Regions from separate parts of the Homo sapiens genome. Here region 2 is linked to region 1. The links are contacts of gene promoters, found by promoter capture Hi-C in human tissues and cell types (Jung and others, 2019). All regions are on one chromosome and are shown on one strand. The core of a region is centred on a gene start or on the middle of the fragment in contact, and the rest is flanking DNA. Distances in the headings are between cores, read along the strand shown.

What was found. Contacts are between HindIII fragments. The study calls those that stand out against the background at their distance.
Region 2: a fragment that was not itself captured here is called in contact with the fragment with the promoter of HOXC5 in region 1 in 1 of the 25 tissues and cell types used here (neural progenitor cells).

Annotation. Positions count from the first base shown.
Region 1 is chr12:54,030,854-54,035,925 of GRCh38, forward strand. It overlaps HOXC5 (homeobox C5), which reads left to right and starts at 2,197. Exons shown (of 2, transcript NM_018953.4): 1 at 2,197-2,723; 2 at 3,425-4,508. The coding sequence starts at 2,270. The coding sequence ends at 3,639. It overlaps MIR615 (microRNA 615), which reads left to right and starts at 3,097; the gene lies at 3,097-3,192. It also overlaps a transcript of HOXC4 not described here. RefSeq lists enhancers at 1,712-2,006, 2,001-3,152 and a silencer at 3,236-3,295. The HindIII fragment of the contact is 19,535 bases long and covers 1-5,072 here.
Region 2 is chr12:53,683,024-53,688,095 of GRCh38, forward strand. No RefSeq gene overlaps it. Among named protein-coding and RNA genes, the nearest start is that of ATP5MC2, 9.5 kb to the left of the region's middle. The HindIII fragment of the contact is 7,655 bases long and covers 1-5,072 here.

The DNA of each region.
Region 1 (5,072 bases), core at 947-3,446:
CCGGCCTCAGGGTGAGAGCTGGAGCAGGCTCCAAGCGCTCCCGCGCCTGCCGGCCCCCTGCAAGCCCCCAGCCCTCTGCACTCGCCTTCCCCGGAGCCCAGGCGCCCGGCCCCGGCCTTCTGTTCGTTCTCGCGATCGCACTGAGGGGCTGGGAGGCCTCTCTGGGCTCCCTGCGCGGAGCAACACACACACCCTGCGGGAAAAAGCCGCGTAGGATTTTGTTGCGGGGGGAGCTGGGATCAGTCGGTTTGGGCACCAACCCCACGCAGGCCTTTCTTCCTGCCTGTGGCAGCCGGTGTCCTCGGCGTCCGAACCCTGAGGCGCCCCGAAAGACCAGTAAAGAAGCACTATCCAGGCACCAGGGTCTCCTCCACCCACTCCCGGGAGTTGGAGGCGGGGGGCGCCGTGAGAGCAAGCCCCAGGCCCGCGCCAAGCTGGCTGTTGCGAAACGTAGCGGAGGCGGAGAGCGGAGGGAAAGAGAAGACCGCGGGACTGGAGCCCTGTCGGCAGGGATTGAGCGATTCAAGGACATCTCGAGAGAGAAAGCCTGGAAACTGAGCTCTCGCCTGCTCTGGTACTCCTGACGTGGCCGGGACAAAATTCCTTCTTCATTACAGCTCCAGCCGGGCTGGTTCCTTACTTTTCTCTCCTCAAACGGGTGAAGAGGCGGGTGAGGAGCGCAGCCGGACCCTAACCATTTATCAACCCTGGCCTTCTCTCTCCAAGCCTGGCCAGAGAAACCTGAGTGGGCCTACAGGGAGAGGTGTTGAGGAGGGTCTCCGGAGGGAAAAAATCCGCCAGAGTTTTCCGGGCCCTTCAGATTCCCTCCAGCGCCCCCACCCTCGCCTCCAGTGCCTCCACCAGTGAGGAGGGGGCCTTCTCCTGGCGGGGCGGAGATTTCCTGGGAAGAAGCAGGCAGGGAAGTATGAGACTTGGGGCTACGGGGGAAGAGGATGGGGCCGAATGGCTGCAGATACCCTGCGAAGGCTACCCAGGCGCCTGCCCTGCCCACCCCCCAGGTCCGCCCCATTCCTCTTGGTAGCTCAGAAATTGCTCTCTTGTGAACCTTATGGATTCAGGTCCCTGGAAAGCCTAGCCCAGAGACCTTTTCCCCAAAGGGCACATAACGGGCCTTTTCCTCTGCCATGCTCACGTAATATTTGTGGAGGCTTCAATCTTGCTTCTCCATGTCCTCAATTAACATCTATTTTCTGTCTAAAACCTCTGGCATAGGTACCACATAAGGATCGCACACAGGGAAACAGAGCAGTCCTCTAGACCATTGTCTGGCTCTGTCCGTGTCCACACACACACTTGAAAATTGCCTTGTTGCCACTCTGGGGACCCTAGCATGGTGAGGTCTAGCCAACTCCACCTGGCTCCTCACCTCCAGATCCATCCCAAACAGCCTGCAACACCCTCAGCTTCATGACCCCCCTATCTTGTTCTGACCACTCAGGATCCCTCCTCCTGGGCGTCCTGTCTACCTCTTCAGAAGCTAATTCTACTTTCTCTTGCTGATAGGCACCTCTTCAGCAGTAGTGGAGCCTTAGGGCCTGAGAGGCAAGGGACTTCTACCTTTGGTTTAGGGAACCTAAGTTAAACCCCATTGGTTCTCCAGCCTGGGCATAGGCCACCTTACCTAACTTAATCCCCTTTCCTCAGCCATTTTTGAAGATTGGAAGACCCTGGAGGTTGGGAGAACGGGACTTTCATTACAAAAAGCACTCTGTGCGTTATAAGTGGGGCCTCGTCTTTTCCCAATTTTAAATAGAATTTAAAAGGCTAGCTCAGGGGTTGCCCCAACAACCAGCTTCTCCTTCACAGTGTAGGAAATCCAGCCACCGGAAAGCAAGCTGGCGCTCCAGGATGCAATTCCCCCACATAGGCACCAGGTGTCGCTGTGGGCTTGTTGTCCCGGCTACCCCCAATTCCAAGAACCTTTTTTTTTTTTTCCCTCCCCCTTCCCTCTTTCTCTCTCTCACTCCCTCTCCCCCTTGGTTGGGCTTTGCCAACATATCGAGATGCTTTTCGCCGGCTTCCATCACTAACCTCCCGGAGGTCATCAAGCCAAATTTATGAGTGGCCGCTCGAGTCACGTGACTCTATTTAAGGCTCCCTTATTTGGGAAGAGCGCATAGGATAAAGAAAGAGATATCTCCACCTATAAATTGTCCACTTTGGAGAACAAAAAACCCCTCAACTTCAAAGAGTCACAAATCACCCTTAATCAAAAAGGGTGCAGAAATTTTTTTGGGCCCTCCCCGCCATGAGCTCCTACGTAGCCAATTCATTCTATAAGCAGAGCCCCAATATCCCTGCCTATAACATGCAAACTTGTGGGAACTATGGATCGGCCTCAGAGGTGCAGGCATCCAGGTACTGCTACGGCGGATTGGACTTAAGCATCACTTTCCCACCGCCTGCGCCTTCCAACTCTCTCCACGGGGTAGACATGGCTGCCAACCCCCGGGCTCACCCCGACCGCCCCGCCTGCAGCGCCGCGGCCGCTCCGGGACACGCTCCGGGCAGAGACGAAGCGGCTCCTCTGAACCCCGGGATGTACAGTCAGAAGGCGGCTCGCCCGGCGCTGGAGGAGCGAGCTAAGAGCAGTGGGGAGATCAAAGAGGAGCAGGCGCAGACAGGGCAGCCCGCCGGACTGAGCCAGCCACCGGCCCCGCCACAGATTTACCCGTGGATGACCAAACTGCACATGAGCCACGGTAAACTTTAGGACTTCATTTTGCGCTCTCGGGTCCGCCTGGGTTTTATAGGCCATGCGGGGCAAATAAAGAAAAAAAACCTGCGGCCATAAATTTTACGATCCAGGCATCAATGGCTCGTAAAACTGTCCACTAAAAGGCTTAGAGGCTGTGTGCGCCCAAATTTACGACGACATAATTGGATCATAGGAACAAAACGTGTATAAAAGGCAATATTCAATTTTTGGGGGAGAGGGAGGGAGTTAAAAAAATAGAGGGATCTGAAGGGTGAGGAGCGCGGGGCTCCAGAGCGGGGATCCCCCCGCGGCTCCCTCCCTCCCTCCCCTGCGGAGCCGGCTCCGCCGGCGCTTGCGGCTCCGGAGGATTCCAGCGACTCGGGAGGGGCGGGAGGGGGGTCCCCGGTGCTCGGATCTCGAGGGTGCTTATTGTTCGGTCCGAGCCTGGGTCTCCCTCTTCCCCCCAACCCCCCCTCAGCCCCTCCGGCTGCAGAGTGAAGGCTGCGGTGGAAAGTTTCCTGCCTGGGCGGAGGCGCCTCTCCCGGGGCTGGGCTGGGCTGGCCCGCCTGCGGCCCGCGTGGCCTGTCTTGCGGCTCTCGCCTCCTCTCCCTCCGGCCGCGGGTGGGGGCCTGGGCTGGGGTGGGGACGGGGGAACGCTGCAAGCTATTCACCCCTTCCTGGCTTGGGGTGGGGTTTATGTTCCAGAGACGGACGGCAAGCGGTCCCGAACCAGTTACACGCGCTACCAGACTCTGGAACTCGAGAAAGAATTCCACTTTAACCGCTACCTCACTCGCCGCAGGCGCATAGAGATCGCCAACAACTTGTGTCTCAATGAGAGACAGATCAAGATCTGGTTCCAGAACCGCAGGATGAAGTGGAAGAAAGATTCCAAAATGAAAAGCAAAGAGGCTCTTTAGAGGCAGCGGGGGAGGCCCGCAGAGCGCGCCCCTAGCCGGTTCCTGTCCCTGCGCCTTTCCTTTTCGCCTTTCCTCTCTATATTTCGGGTCGGGGGCAGGTGCTGGAGCACTGGGCTCCCGGGCCCCACAGACAAAAGCGCTTTTCCTTGGCATTCCGCATCCCTACCGACCCAGGGTTCCCGCGGGGCTGTCGGCGCTGCCCCATCTCCCCTCAGCTCGGCTCAGCTCGGTACCCGGGGCCCAGGGCAAGCTCCGCAGGACTTCCCCGGAGGGCTGCGGCGTACAGGCTGGCGCAGAACGAACCTTGGCCTGGGCCGTATCTCCGGCTCCCAGCCTCAGCGCGGCCCTCCCGAGTTAAGGTGGGCCCGGCCCGCGCCACAGGACCCTCGCCGGACCCTCTAACCTCGCCCTCTCCTTTGTTCCCGGCTGGACGGGTTAGACAGCCAAAGGCTGGCGAGAGTCTGGCCCTAGACTCGGGGTGCTTCCTTGTAGCGACTAAACTAGATTTTCACTTATGAATGATTTGCATATGAAAGGAGAGCATCGGCCTAGGGCCCCCACAGTTGCTCTATGCTTTCCAAACCTTATCTCCACAACCTCTTCCCCCCAAAACCCGGGAACCTCCCCAGCCTGCGCCTGCTGCATGCCCTCTCAGGCCGGCAGCCCCAGCCTGCTAGCTAGCTCAACTAGTGGGGTTTCCTGGCACTGGACCCCAGCAAGTGGTCCTAGAGGCCCTTTGCTGTCCCATAGTCCCTGCCACGAATTTCTGTGCCCTCCTGACCCATTGCTGTTGTCCAACTATTTATTGACTCTGGGTCCTTCCTGAAACTATATTTTGTCATATCAAATAAAGAGAGAACAGGACTAAAGATGCAGTGGCTCCTGTCTGTTTGGGGCATGTATTGGGTAAAATTGTCTAAATGGGCTGTGAGATGTAGAAGGAGACCCACAAACTTTAAGCCACCCCTTTAAAAAATTTTCTAGCTTCTAGGGGCAGTGAGTAGAGGGAGGTGAAATTGAGCTCCTTTCCTGTTCCTTGGCTGCAACAAGAGCCTCTGGGGGAAGAGAAGGGCACCTAGGCCTCGAGTACTGGCTTTTCCCATGCTGTGGCTGTCCAAGGCCTTCACGCCTCTGCACTCCAGGAGGCCTCTGGACTGGCAGCAGCCCCCACTGTGTGCCAAAGCTGCGGTGCAGGAACCAGTGGCTCCACCGTGCTCAGCCTTAGGACCTTCTGGGCCTCTGAAGATCTTTCCTGGGCCTAGGTGGTCCCTGAGAGGCCTTGCTGGACATAGAGGGAGGGCTGAGCCCTCACTCTAGGGACCCATTTGGTCTCATAAGGGCCTCTAGAGGGAGGTGGTATTGCTTGGTAAGGGGGTGTTGGGAGAGTTGGAGGAGGTGTGCCTCAGTATCTAAGATACTGGGGAAGAGGGAGC
Region 2 (5,072 bases), core at 1,584-4,083, 350 kb before region 1:
GACCATCCTGGCCAATATGGTGAAACCCCGTCTCTACTAAAAATACACAAATTAGCTGGGTGTGGTGGCACACACCTGTAAGAACGTGCCACTGCACTCCAGCCTGGTGACAGATCGAGATCCATATCAAAAAAGAAAAAAAAAAGGAATTTCATGGTGGTTTGAATTTATATTTCCCCTATTGTTGATGAGGTTGAGTGGTTGAGTATCTTTTCATATATTTATTGGCCATTCATGTTCTGTCTTCTGTGAAATGCCTAGTCATGTATGTCTTTTGCCCATTTTCCTATTGGGTTATTTGTTATCTTCCTATTGATTTTTAGGAATTAACAAATATATGTCCTAGTACTGATCCTTGTTAATGGCAGTTTGTGGAGGGGTTGGGATTTTAGTAGAAGATCTAAGGATGGATGATTTCAGTTCTAGCTCAGTCTTTATTGAGTTGGATTAATTAATTCTTAATTAATTCATCAATTATTTATTGAATGCCTAGGCAGACATCATGCTAAACATTGAGAATACAAATATCTCCCACATTTGCCTATTCCTTACCACTTCCAAAATCTAACTTGGTCCAAGCCACTGACATCTCTTGCTGGTTCACTACAATACTTCCTAGCTGATCTCCTTGATTCCGGTTTGGCCTGGCCACAGTCTACACTCCACACAGTGAGTAGCTAAACTGGTCTTTTAAAATGTAGATCAGCTCGAGCCCATGAGTTTGAGGCTGTGGTGAGCTATGATTGCATTACTGCACTCCAGCCTGGGTAACAAAGCAAGACTCTGCCTCTAAAAAATAAAAAATAAAGAAAAAAAAAGGAAAATATAGATTGGATCTTGCTACTTAAAACCTTCTAATAGTTTTATAGTACTTGTAGACAAAATTCAAGGGTCCAGCTATAATAGGCTCTTACTGAACTTCAGATACAGCAAAGATTTTCTCACTCAGGACCCTTGCTATTCCCTCTTCCTGGAACCTTCTTCCCCCAGATTATGCCTTGGCTGGCTCTCTCATTTCATTTAGGCCTCGTCTCTGATATCGTCTCCTCAGAGACGCCTTTCCTGACCACTCTCTCTAAATAGCCATCACCCTCTCTTCTTTATCCCTTTATATTTCCTTATTTTTCTTTTTAGCACTTATGTATTTTTTTAAATTTTATTTATTTATTTATTTATTTATTTATTTATTTATTTTTGAGATGGAGTTTTGCTCTCGTTGCCCAGGCTGGAGTGTAACGGCACGATCTCAACTCACTGCAACCTCCGCCTCCTGGGGTCAAGTGATTCTCGAGCCTCAGCTGAGAAGCTGGGATTACAGCATGCACCACCATGCCCGGCTAATTTTGTATTTTTAGTAGGGATGGGGTTTCACCACGTTAGCCAGGATGGTCTCGAACTCCTGACCTCAGATGATTTGCCCACCTCGGCCTCCCAAAGTGCTGGGATTACAGGCTTAAGCCACCCCACTGAACTATTTTTATTTTTTATCGCTTTTACCCCATTAGAAGATAAGCTTCCCTAAGGCAGGGACGTTGTTCATCACTGTATCCCCAGCATTTAGAACAGTACCTGGCACATACTAGGCTCTCAACAGAAATTTTGTGAATGATTAAACAGTGCATAAGATAGAGTCCTTGCCCTTAACAACTTTATAGTCTAACAGGGGATACACAGGATTATTAAATAAAAGGCAAATAATTTCAACACAGAACAATAGTATTATAAAAAGGGTAAGCAGTGGGTGCTATGGAAATACATAGGACGGACATGCATCACAGTGCTGAGAAGGGGTAGTCAAGGAAGGCCTCCAGAAGGGGGTGACATTTCTGAGATGCCTAAAAAAACTGTATAGGGAGGGACTGAAAGGATGTTCCACGGAGTAGGGGCAATATGTACAAAGGCTTGGAAGTGAGGGATTAAGTGATCTTTTCAACAGAGGGCAAGTAATTCAATGTGGCCAGAATGAACAGTTGTGGTGTGGCAGGATACAGAGAGATGAGACTAGTTGGTGGTGGCTAGATCCTGAAGGATCTTGAACATCGAGCTAAGGCATTTGGATTTCATCCAGAAAGCAACAAGGAGTCATTTAAGCAAGAGAGTGAGAGGCTCAAGTGTGCATTTAAAAAAGATCATTCTAGCTCTAGTGTGGAGGACTGATGAGAAAGGGCAGGCCTGGCAGCACAGAGAGCAAAAAGGAGGCTGTTGTCGAAATCCAGGTGGGAGAACAGGGTGCCTTGAGCTTGGGGGTGATAGTGGGGATGGTGAGGAGTAGGAGGAGCTCAGAGAGCTTTCGAAGGAAGACCTTACAGGCCTCAGTGATTGACTGGTGTATGAGATAAAGGAGAAGGGAGAGGTGAAGATGGCGCTCAGTTTTCTGGCCTGGGTTACCGAGTGGTGCCATTCTGTGACTCTCTCCCAAGCCTAATCCATCTCCACATTCTAGGAACCACCCCCGCCAGGCTTTACAACCTAGGAGCCTACCCCTAAGGCTAACCTTCCTCTAAACTTGGTCCTGTACCCAATTACCCAGCATTGGTTTAACCTTTTCTTTGGGTTCTATTCCCTCTACTTTCTTCCCACTAAATGAAATGGAAACTTCTCTCTAGATACCCCTGGTTCTGTTCTTATTTTGCCAAACTTACCTGACTCACTAGGCCCTTGTGTATTTGATTAAAGCTCATCAGAGAGCAAGAATCTTCCACAATCTCTCTCCATAGAGGCTAAAACAGGGTTGTAGCTCAAGGGAGCCACTGTTGGGTACTATAAGCAGCCTGAAGACTCCTAGACATACAGGACAGAAGAGTGGCAGGACAGACAGTAAAATGACTACAGGTGGCCGGGTGCGGTGGCTCACGCCTGTAATCCCAGCACTTTGGAAGGCCGAGGTGGGTGGATCACTTGAGGACAGGAGTTCGAGACCAGCCTGGCCAACATGATGAAATCCTGTCTCTACTAAAAGTACAAAAATGAGCTGGGAGTGGTGGCTCATGCCTGTAATCCCAGCTACTTAGGAGGCTGAGGCAGGAGAATCTCTTGAACCCGGGAGGCGGAGGTTGCAGTGAGCCAAGATTGCGCCATTGCACTCCAGCCTGGGTGACAGAGTGAGACCTTGTCTCAAAAAGAAAAAAAAAATGACTACAAGTATGCAATGTAAGTTAGTTACATCCTCTTTAGGTGGAGAATAGCAGAAGTCACGGCAACCATGGAAGGGCAAGGGTGAGAAATCAGCAGCCCCTTTTGTAATAAGCTGAAAAGTTTCTGATGAAAAGGTGAATTTGGCAAGCTGTGAGAATGAAGAGGGGGAATTGCTGGTGGGCAAGTCTGGAGGCTTTCTAGCCATGAAGAACAGAATGGGAAGGGCAGAAAGAAGAATCAGAGTGCTGTAGTGAGATGAGTGAGCCCACCTCTAATATTTGTGGGGCTCACAGCAAGAGAAAAATTTAGGCCCCGATACCAAATATCTAAATATGTAAAAGTTATAAATCAAAGCTAATAAACCATTAAGTAAACATGTCCTACCCTCTTATCTTGACAAATATATCAATATCAACTGGAAGGTTTATATTTAGAATTCTGGAATTCCTTCAAGTCCCTGTTTGCCTCATGTTCTCTTTCCATTCATGGCTCTGTCCCACTGCCGAAGGGGCCTCACACAAAAGTGTGCGCTCAGTAAGGCCATACATCTAAACTCCATCTGCACTACAGGCCAACAGGACTAGGAATGTGCCCCCAGTAGCTCAGTCTGTGCTCTCAAGAGATCAGCCCCCAGGAAGAGGCTGTGGGCTGTGGCCTTGGAAGGGGCTGCTCAACAGGGGATTCTGGTAACTGGAGCATGTCTAGGAGTGGGGAGAAATGAGCTCTGGGTAGACATATCCACTTGGCCTTAAGTTATCCTCCTTCTGGAGGAGGATGAGGCCGTCTTTAAAAAAACAAGCACCAAAGATAAAATCCCTCTGGCCAAGTCTAAAGGCATGGACTCCAAAATGATATAGAGCTAGTTCAAATCCCTATTGTAATATTTCTTTATTCTTCTTTGAACCTGAGCAGGCTCTTTGAGTCTCCATTTTCTTACTTGTAAAATGGGGATAATAATAACTACCTTACAGCGTTATTGTGAGAATTAAGCAAATGTGTGCAAAGCACCTGGTATTTAATAATCGCTACTTAGTTCACATTGTTTTTCTTCCCACTCACTACCATGCTTCCCTTAAAGTAACCATGCAGGCTGGGGGAAAAAAATATGATTTTTTTTTGGTAAGGCTATCTGGCAGAAGTGAGTCTAAGAAAAAGGAATTTATAAAGAAGACAGTAATAATCTAGGCAGTAATAATCCCAGCTCAGCCTGGAACCACGTGGGAGAAAGAGGGAGAGGAAGTTATTTTGTATGCAGATAAATGAGAAGTGGTAATGGTGTAATTGCTTTTACAATCTGTTTGTTTTGCTGAGGGTAGCAGGTGGTTACTGTTTTGATTCTTGATTTTCATGTTAAGACAGAGGGAGAAAAGGTGTGAATAATCCAAAATAAAAGAAAATCCAAACACCATTCCTTGTGACTAGAAACACAATCAGAGAAACACATGGTTGCAAACACATATGTATTCTGCCTTTAATTTAATTAAATTAATTAATTTATTCATTTATTTATTTTTGAGTTGGAGTCTCGCTCTGTTACCCAGGCTGAAGTGCAGTGGCGCGATCTTGGCTCACTGCAATCTCTGTCTCCCGGGTTCAAGCAATTCTCCTGTCTTAGTCTCCCAAGTAGCTGGGAGTACAGATGCACGCCACCATGCCTGGCTAATGTTTGTATTTTTAGTAGACATGGGGTTTCACCATATTGGTTAGGCTCGTCTTGAACTCCTGATCTCAGGTGATCCACCTGCCTCGGCCTCCCAAAGTGCTGGAATTACAGGTGTGAGCCACTGTGCCCGGCCCTTATTTATTTATGTTAAGACAGGGTCTCACTCTGTCATGCTGGCTGGAGTGTAGTGACACGATCTCAGCTCACTGCAACCTTTGCCACCTGGGCTCAAGTGATCCTCCCACCTCAGCCTCCCAAATAGCTGCACCATCAT